Regions from separate parts of the Homo sapiens genome. Here region 1 is linked to region 2. Evidence: promoter capture Hi-C in human tissues and cell types (Jung and others, 2019). All regions are on one chromosome and are shown on one strand. The core of a region is centred on a gene start or on the middle of the fragment in contact, and the rest is flanking DNA. Distances in the headings are between cores, read along the strand shown.

The links. The method cuts DNA at HindIII sites, captures the fragments that hold promoters and counts their contacts. A contact is called where the count stands out against the background at its distance.
Region 1: a contact is called between a fragment that was not itself captured here and the fragment with the promoter of CSTF3 in region 2, in 2 of the 25 tissues and cell types used here (adrenal gland and mesendoderm cells).

Annotation. Positions count from the first base shown.
Region 1 is chr11:33,678,060-33,683,091 of GRCh38, reverse strand. No RefSeq gene overlaps it. Among named protein-coding and RNA genes, the nearest start is that of C11orf91, 20 kb to the left of the region's middle. The HindIII fragment of the contact is 9,272 bases long and covers 1-5,032 here.
Region 2 is chr11:33,158,115-33,162,976 of GRCh38, reverse strand. CSTF3 (cleavage stimulation factor subunit 3) reads left to right here and starts at 1,497. Exons shown (of 21, transcript NM_001326.3): 1 at 1,497-1,678. The coding sequence starts at 1,652. CSTF3-DT (CSTF3 divergent transcript) reads right to left here and starts at 1,320. Exons shown (of 4, transcript NR_034027.1): 1 at 1,196-1,320. RefSeq lists enhancers at 1,113-1,532, 2,268-3,135. The HindIII fragment of the contact is 6,364 bases long and covers 1-4,168 here.

The DNA.
Region 1 (5,032 bases), core at 2,030-4,529, 520 kb before region 2:
TCTAGATCACAGGAGAAGGACTGAACCTTACCTGGAGCTGAGTTAATTGAGAGAGCTGAGTGAAATACAGGGGTAGAGGAAGCAGCAGGAAAAGCCCTGTGGGCTCTCTGGGTCCCTAAGGAAGCCATTTCTGACTTGTCTCACAGGGGTCCTTAGGGAGGGCTGCCAGAGGAACTGGGAAAAGACCACAGACAGAAGGAAACCTCCAGGTGAACTCTGTAACAATTCCAACCAAACACGAGGTCTCCTGGCCAGAACTCGAAAGAGGGCATGAATCTGGTGTGTAGACTCCAGAGGTGGCGAGGCATGAAAGCCCTTCTTGTTTTCTCAGCTGGGAGGCTGGTAGCCTGGAGCAAGTTCTCAGCCTTGCTCATCCACTGCCTGGAAACAAGTTCGGTGCTGCTGGGGGAGTGCACAGTGGGAGTGAGACTGGCCTTTTGGGTTGCGTAGGAGCTGGGTGAGGCCTGTAACTGCTGGCTTTCCCCCACTTCCCTGACAACCTGCCTGACACAGCAGAGGGAGCCATAATCCTCCTGGGAGCATAACTCCATTGACATAGGAATCACACCTCCATCCCCCACAGTAGTGGCAGCAAGCCCCACCCAAGGAGAGTCTGAGCTCAGACATACCTAGCCTTGCCCTTACCTGATGGTCCTTTCCTACCCGCCCTGGTAGCAGAAGAGAAAGGGCATATTCTTTTAGGAGTTCTAGGGCCCTGCCCACTGCTTGATCCTCCCTCTACTACCACAGCTGATGCTGTCTTGAAAACGCCACTTCCTGGGAGGAGGCCAACCAGCACAAAACTAGTGCATTAAACCACCAAAGCTAAGAACCCTCACAGAGTCCATTTCACCCCCTCTGCCACCTCCACTGGAACAGGTGCTGGTATCCACAATGGAGAGACCTGAAGATGGTTCACATCACAGGATTCTGTGCAAACACCCCTCAGTACCAGCCCGGGGCCTGGTAGTCCTGCTGGGTGGTTAGATCCTGAAGGGAAATAATAATCACTACAGTTCAGCTCTCAGGAAGCCACATTTCTAGGAAAAGGGGGAGCGTACCACATCAAGGGAACACCCCATGGGACAAAAGAATCTGCATGGCAGCCTTGAGCCCCAGATCTTCCCTCTCACATAGCCTACCCAAATGAGAAGGAACCCGGAAAAAAAATACTGGTAACATGACAAAACAAGGTTCTTTAACACCCCCAAAAAGTCACACTAGCTCACCTGCAATGGATCCAAATGAAGAAGAAATCCCTGATTTACCTAAAAAAAGAATTTAGAAGGTTGATTATTAAACTAATCAAGGAGGCACCAGAGAAAGATGAAGTCCAATTTAAGGAAATAAAAAAATGATACAAGATATGAGGGAAGAAATCTTCAGTGAAATAGCATAAATAAAAAACAATCACAACTTCAGGAAATAAAGGACACACTTAGAGAAATGCAAAATGTACCGGAAAATCTCAGCAATAGAATCGAACAAGCAGCAGAAAGAACTTCAGACTCGAAGACAAGGTTTTTGATTTAACCCAATCCAACAAAGACAAAAGAATTTTTAAAAAATGAACAAAGCCTCCAAGAAGTTTGGGATTATGTTAAATGACCAAACCTAAGAATAATTGGCATTCCTAAGGAAGAAGAGAAATCTAAAAGTTTGGAAAACATATTTGGGGGAATAATTGAGGAAAACTTCCCCAGCCTTGCTAGAAACCTAGACATCCAAATACAAGAAGCTCAAAGAACACCTGGGAAATTTACTGCAAAAGATCATCACCTAGGCACACTGTCATCAGGTTATCTAAAGTCAAGATGAAGGAAAGAATCTTGAGAGCTGTGAGGCAAAAGCACCAGGTAACCTATAAAGGAAAACCTATCAGATTAACAGCAGATTTGTCAGCAGAAACCCTACAAGCTAGAAGGGATTGGGACCCTATCTTCAACCTCCGTAAATAGCCAAGAATTTGGTATCCAGTGAAACTAAGCTCCATAAATGAAGGAAAGATGATAGTCTTTTTCAGACAAACAAATGCTAAGAGAATTTGCCACTACCAAACCACCACTACAAGAACTACTAAAAGGAGCTCTAAATCTTGAAACAAATCCCAGAAACACATCAAAACAGAATCTCTTTAAAGCATAAATCTCACAGGACCTATAAAAATTTTTTTTAAAAACCCAAGGTATACAGGCAACAAATAGCATGATGAATGGAATAGTACCTCACATTTCAATACTAATGTTGAATGCAAATAGCCTAAATGCTCCACTTAGAAGATACAGAATTGCAGAATGGACAAGAATTCGCCAACCAAGTACCTGCTGCCTTCAAGAGACTCACCTGACACATAAAGACTCACATAAACTTAAGGTAGAGGTGGAAAAAGACATTCTACACAAATGGACACCAAAAGCGAGCAGAAGTAGCTATTCTTATATCAGACAAAACAAACTTTAAAGCAACAGCAGTTTAAAAAGACAAAGCAGGATATTATATAATGATAAAAGGCTTTGTCCAACAGGAAAATATCACAATCCTAAATATATACGCACCTAACACCAGAGCTCCCAAATTTATAAAACAATTACTACTGGACCTAAGAAATGAGATAGACAGCAACACAATAATACTAGGGGACTTCAATACTCCACTGACAGCACTAGACAGGTCTTCAAGACAGAACTTCAACAAAGAAACAATGGATTTAAACTATACCCTGGAACAAATGGACTTGACAAATATTTAAGAACATTCTACCCAACAACTGCAGAATATACATTCTATTCATCAGTGCATGGAATTTTCTCCAAGATAGACCATATGATAGGTCACAAAACAAGTCTCAATAAATTTAAGAAAACTGAAACTATATCAAGTACTGTCTCAGACCACAGTGCAATAAAATTGGAAATCAACTCCAAATGGAATCCTCAAAACCATATATACATGGAAATTAAATAACCTGCTCTTGAATGATCGTTGGGTCAACAATGAAATCAAGATGGAAATTAAAAAGTTCTTTGAACTGAACAATAATAGTGACACAACCTATCAAAACTTTTGAGACACAGCAAAAGTGATGCTAAGAGGAAACTTCATAGCATTAAACGCCTACATCAAAAAGTCTGAAAGAGCACAAATAGACAATCTAAGGTCACACCTCATGGAACTGGAGAAACAAGAACAATCCAAACCCCAACCCAGCAGAGGAAAAGAAATAACAAAGATCAGAGCAGAACTAAATGAAATTGAAGCAAGAGAAACAATACAAAAGATAAATGAAACAAAAAGCTGGTTCTTTGAAAAGATAAATAAAACTGATAGACCATTAGCAAGATTAACCAAAAAGAGAGAAGATCCAAATAAGCTCAATTAGAAACAAAATGGGAGATATTACAACCAACACCACAGAAATACAAAAGATCATTCAAGGCTACTATGAACACCTTTATGAACATAAACTATAAAACCTAGAGGAGATGCATAAATTCCTGGAAAGATACAATTCTCTTAGCTTAAATCAGGAAGAATTAGAAACCCTGAAGAGACCCAAAACAAACAGTGAAAATGAAATGGTAATTAAAAAAAATACCAACAGAAAAAGTCCAGGACCAGATGGATTCACAGCTGAAACCAGGCATTCAAAGAAGAATTGGTACCAATCCTATTGACACTATTCCATAAGATAGAGAAAGAGGGAATCCTCCCTAAATCATTCTATGAAGCTAGTATCACCCTAACACCAAAACTGGGAAAGGACATAACAAAAAAAGAAAATTACACACCAATATTCCTGTTGAACATAGATGCAAAAATCCCCACCAAAATACTAGCTAACCAAATTCAACAGCATATCAAAAAGGATAATACACCATTATCAAGTAGGTTTCATACTAGGGATGTAGGGATAGTTTAACATATGCAAGTCAATAAATATGACACACTACTTAAACAATTAACAACAAAAATCACATCACATGATCATCTCAATAGACACAGAAAAAGCATGTGACAAAATCCAGCATCACTTTTATGATTACAACTCTCAGCAAAATCGGCATACAAGGGACATACCTCAATGAAATAAAAGCCATCTATCACAACCCACAGCCAACATAATACTGAACTGGGAAAAGTTGAAAGCATTCCCTCTGAGAACTGGAACAAGACAAGGATGCCCACTCTCACCACTTCTATTCAACGTAGTATTGGAAGTCCTAGTCAGAGCAATCAGGCAAGAGAAAAAAAATAAAGGGCATTCAAATCACTAAAGAGGAAGTCAAACTGTTGCTGTTTGCTCATGGTATGACTGTATACCTAGAAAACCCTAAAGACTCCTCCAAAAAGCTCCTAGAACTGATTAATGAATTCAGCAAAGTTTCAGGATACAAAGTTAATGTACACAAGTCAGTAGCTCTGCTATACACCAACAGTGATCAAGCTAAGAATCAAATGAAGAACTCAACCTTTTTTTACAATAAGCTTTTCTTTTTTACAAATAAAATAAAATACTTAGGAATATATCTAACCAAGGAGGTGAAAGACCTCTGCAAGGACAACTACAAAACACTGCTGAAAGAAATCATAGACACAAACAAATGGAAAACACATGTCATGCTCATGGATGGGTAAAATTAACATTGTGAAAATAATCATATTGCCAAAAGCAATCTATAAATTCAATGCAATTCCCATCAAAATACCACCATCATTCTTCACAGAACTAGAAAAAACATTCCTAAAATTCACATGGAACTGAAAAGAGTCTACCTAGCCAAAGCAAGACTAAGCAAAAAGAACAAATCTGGAGGCATCACATTACCTGATTTCAAACTATATTATAAAGCCACAGTCACCAAAACAGCATGGTACTGGTATAAAAATAGGCACATAGACCAGTGGAACAGAACAGAGAACCAAGAAATAAATCCAAATACTTACAGCCAACTGATCTTCAACAAAGCAAACAAAAACATAAAGTGGGGAAAGGACACCCTATTCAACAAATGGTGCTGGGATAATTGGCAAG
Region 2 (4,862 bases), core at 248-2,747:
AAGTGTAAGTTTGAGCAGAGGAAAGGAGACCTAAAAGAATAAGGCGAGTCTGGGAACAGTTCACTAGGTTATTTTAGGGCATTGGACCCCCGTAGGCGAGAAATGCTTGCAGACATCTAACGATGACGCTTAAATGGAAGAGCAGTTTGAGAAGATTTAGTATCATTTAATTTTTTATTTTTTATTTTTTTTGAGACGGAGTCTCGCTCTGTAGTCCAGGCTGGAATCTCGGCTCACTGCAACCTCCGCCTCGCGGGTTCAAGCGATTCTCCTGCTTAAGCTTCCCGAGTAACTGGGACTACAGGCGCAAACCACCACGCCCGGCTACTTTTTTTGTATTTTTGGTAGAGACGAGATTTCACCAAGTTGGCCAGGTTGGTCCTGAATTCCTGACTTTATTTATTTATTTTCTGAGACGGAGTCTCGCTCTGCCGCCCAGGCTGGAGTGCAGTGGCGCGATCTCGGCTCACTGCAAGCTCCGCCTCCCAGGTTCACGCCAGTCTCCTGCCTCAGCATCCGGAGTAGCTGGGACTACAGGCGCCCGCCACCACGCCCGGCTAATTTTTTTTTGTGTGTGTGTGTATTTTTAGTAGAGACGGGGTTTTACCGTATTAGCCAGGATGGTCTCATCTCCTGACCTTGTGATCCGCCCGCCTCAGCCTCCCAAAGTGCTGCGATTACAGGCGTGAGCCACCGCACCTGGCCTAGAACTCCTGACTTTAAATGATCCATCCGTTTTGGCCTCCCAAACTGCTGGGATTACAGGCGTGGGCCACCGCGCCCAGTCAATCTCATTTAATCTTAATGCCAGGTACTGTTCTAACACTTTTCTATGTATAATTTATTTCACTTGCAGGTACTATTATTATTCCCATCTATAGGCCAGAAAGCTGAGGTACGAAGTTTAATTACCAGAGTTACTTATCTTCGTTAAAATCCAAGCAGTCTGGGCTACAAACAATTATACCTACTTTGCAGTCAAGGAACCAAGCTGAGATGTTGAGCTGAAAACCCAGGTCTCAGACTTCAAAGCTTTCTACACAAGAGTCGACGGTGGCAGTAAAAATTAATGGGGGCTTGATCTATCCCTCCCACCCCCAAGAAAAGTAAAAAGCAGGAGCTGGGACCAGAGAAAACCTCCACGGAGTCCTTATCCCCTAAATATAAGAGGCATTTAACGTTTAGCATTGCTGACCTGCAATCAGGCTTCAACTGTGAGTAGCCAGGCTCTAAAGCTTGATAACTGAATTCCAAAAAGCGCGCGAGCCTCCAGGCGAAACAGCTTCCCGCCTTCCAGCCGGTTGGAGCCGGCTCAGCAACAGCCTCTCCAAGCCAGGGTAGTGACGTCAGCCCAGGAATTGGGCCCGCCCCGGGATCTCGCTGCTTTCTGCACGCTCGGAATAACCAGAGTCGCGAAATTAGCCCCGCCCACTGCCCCGGAAGTTAATGCGGAAGCCACACACCTCCTCCTCGGCCGGCAGGGGCGCAGCCATTTTAATTCATATTTGAGTGGGCGGTGGCGATTGGTGTTGGCGGTCTGGCTCAGCTGGGCAGGGGGTAACTTTACTGATTTGGGGGTGGTTTTTAGTTTAATTTTTCTTTTCTAGCTTCCCATCGACGGTCAGTGCGCACGTTGTAATCAGCTGAGGCCATGTCAGGAGACGGAGCCACGGAGCAGGTGAGGAAGGAGAGTGGTGGGGCCTCGTGGCGACCTCTTCTCCACGTCTGTTCCTCCGACTGCTCCAGACATGTTCGGCTGAGGAAGGAATTGGGTCTAGTGAACCCGGGGGACAGGGTATATAGAAGAGTGGTGGGAATGGGGAGCAAGATCTAAGATTTAATTTTTTTTTTTTTACTTCTCTCTCTTAGGCATGAATACGAGTAAATACTTGATTTAGACAATAGCGGTAGGCTGCTTCGTCCTATTTAGATTCATGGGACTACTCCAGATGGGATGCTTTCCTTTGATATCGTTTTGGTATTAGAGTGGATAGGAATTATTTTAACGTGCACCCGACGTTTTAGAAAAACTTGACAGTGTTTCTTTTACCCCGCCAAATATACTGTACCCAGAAATAGGTTACTAGTTTGAGAAATATTTGAGACAAAGCTAATCTGGAGAATTAAGACTTAATGAGAGCGAGTGAAGAAAGAAGCAAGTTATGCTGAGGTTTTGGGAATTTTGTGGCTTTCTTTCGTTTTCTTTTCTTTTAGCCACATTTCGTTTTCATTTTTCCAGCTACATAAACATTGCAGGTATAAGTTGAAAATGAGAAGTCTGTTTTGGCCACTGTAAATAAAAGCATCTGTTTTAATAGTAAATATGAGTGACAACTAAATATTTTAAAATTCACACTTTTAGGTTAGATCAGTGTGATTTGTTTCTTTTGCTCTTTGTATTCAGAATTTTGTAGGATAGTATTTACCTTTTAGTGTGAAAGAGGAAGCTAAATAGTTATGAAAAATGCCATTAAATGTGTTTTTCGATCTAAGTCCTGGTGTGTTTAGATAAATACAGTTTCTAAAATGGAGGCTAGGTAGCCTGCAGTCTCAATTTCCTGAAATTTCCCATTGCCATAGCAACGACATGCACTTAGGTTTTCGTTTTTCAGGTTCCCTAGCTTATAACGTGGAAGATGTTATTGGAGGTTGGCAGAGATGAGGCAAAATAGGAGCGTTCTATTGCATAGTCTGTAAGACTGTAGATTTCATTATGTCGGCAGTTTGATTAAATTGTTTTGTGTTTGCCCGAGGACTGGTTTCAGTCCAGAAATCTTCGCACTATTTACATTTTACATAGTGTTAGCATGCCCAAGCATGCAAAGTCTTAAAATTACTGTATCAAAACTGTTTACCCCTTTTCTGATCTAGTATTTGTTATCTGAAAGTGAAGGACTAATGAACTGAGGTTTCATTGAAAGTTTTCGAAATTCATTGTTAATTCTTAGAATTTATCTAAAATTACAAAGACACGGAAATGTTACCATGACCTCTTGAATGTTTTAGAACTGTGGTGTTTCAGTGGGACAGATGGTGGTGAAAATTTATAGAAAAATAATTTCTCCCAAAGGTTTTATTGTGCAAAGTTTAGAACATAGAGAAAAGTTGAAAGAAAAGTGCAGTGAACACCTGTAGGACAACTCTTCGCCTGGAATCAACAGCTGAAAGCCTTGCCATATTTGCTTTATCTCCCCATGCTGATAGATTGAGAACAGAGTCTTTGTCACTCACACTAGAGTGCTGTGACGCCATCACAGCTCACCATAGCTTCGACCTCCCTGCGCTCTGTGATCCTGCCACCTCAGCCTCCTCCGTAGCTGGGAGTACAGGCGCGCGCCACCATGCCCAGCTAATTTTTTTTTTTTTTTTTTTTTTTTTTTTGAGATGGAGCCTTGCTCTGTCGCCCAGACTGGAGTGCAGTGGCGCGATTTCGCCTTACTGCAGCCTCCGCCTCCCGGTTCAAGCGATTCTCCTGCCTCAGCCACCCCAGTAGCTGGGATTACAGGCGCCCACCACCATGCCCCGCTAATTTTTGTATTTTAAGTAGAGACGGGGATTTTGCCACGTTGCCCAGGCTGGTCTCGAACTCCTGACCTCAAGTGATCCGCCTACCTCTGCCTTCCAAAGTGCTGGATTTACAGGCGTGAGCCACCGTACCTGGCCTAATTTTTGTATTTTTTTTGTAGAGACAGGAATTCACCATGTTGCCCAGCCTGGTCTGGAACTCCTGGGCTCAAGCGATTCACCCACCTCAGTGTCCCCAAGTGTTGGGATTACAGACAGGCACGAGCCACCACGCCTGGTCCACGCATGTTTATTTGAAAGTATTTTGACACATTGCAGCCCCAAGTATTTCAGCATTCTCTTATAAATAAGAGCAAAATGTTGTTACATAACCACCATACCATTTCCCCACCCAAGAAAATAGTATTTCTAAAATCTAGTTCTTTAAATTTCCCCATTTGTCCCAAGAATGTGATTTTTTTTTTAACCAGAATCAATCTAGATTTACATATTGAATCATTTACTTCTGTCTCTTAAGTAGTCTCACCATTCTTCTCCCCTGGGGCTGTTGTCTATTCGAAGTGTCAAGGACACTTAACACTGCTTTTCTGGGTGTATTTGTTTTTTGTTGTTTGTTTGCTTGCTTGCTTTTGGTTTGGGGGTTGATGATGTCATTTAACTTGTCCCTTCATCTGTATTTCCTGAAAACTTTACAGTTAGGTCTATACTCAGCCTTGATATTTGGGTTAAGTATTTTTGGATAGAATACTTAACATTATATCATTACATTAGCAGGTACTTCTGCTGGGTTCTGTTAGGATGGTTAAGTTTGATCACTTGGTTTAGGGTGATCTCATTGTTAAGGGTCATGTTCCCCTTTGCAGTTAATAATCTGTGAGTTGATAACCGTTTTCTTTAAAATCACCTTATACCTAGTTATCAATTGATAAATCTTGACTAAATCAGCTCTTACATTGGAAGTAGCAAATGGTGGTTTTGTTTTGTTTTTAAAACCCACAATTCTGTTGGTCTGTGTCTGTTTACTGGCTCATACTTTCTGCAAAAAAGACTTTTTTTCTTCCTAAAGATTAAGTATCGCTATGGATTCATGGATTTCTCTTAGTGTGTTAGTATCAGTGATAGCCATTTTTCTTTTGCACACTCAACTTGTCCAAACCTTTTTGGTGGTTCTTATATCTTTTCCTTAAGTCTGAAAGGCAATTTAGACATCTGATTATCAACAAGGAAGTCATCTTCATATAGCCTTTTCTTTAACTTTTTAATAATACATTTCAAACATGTAAGAAAAACAGTATAATATATGAAGTACCTGTCATAGAGCTTCAATTTATGGCTAA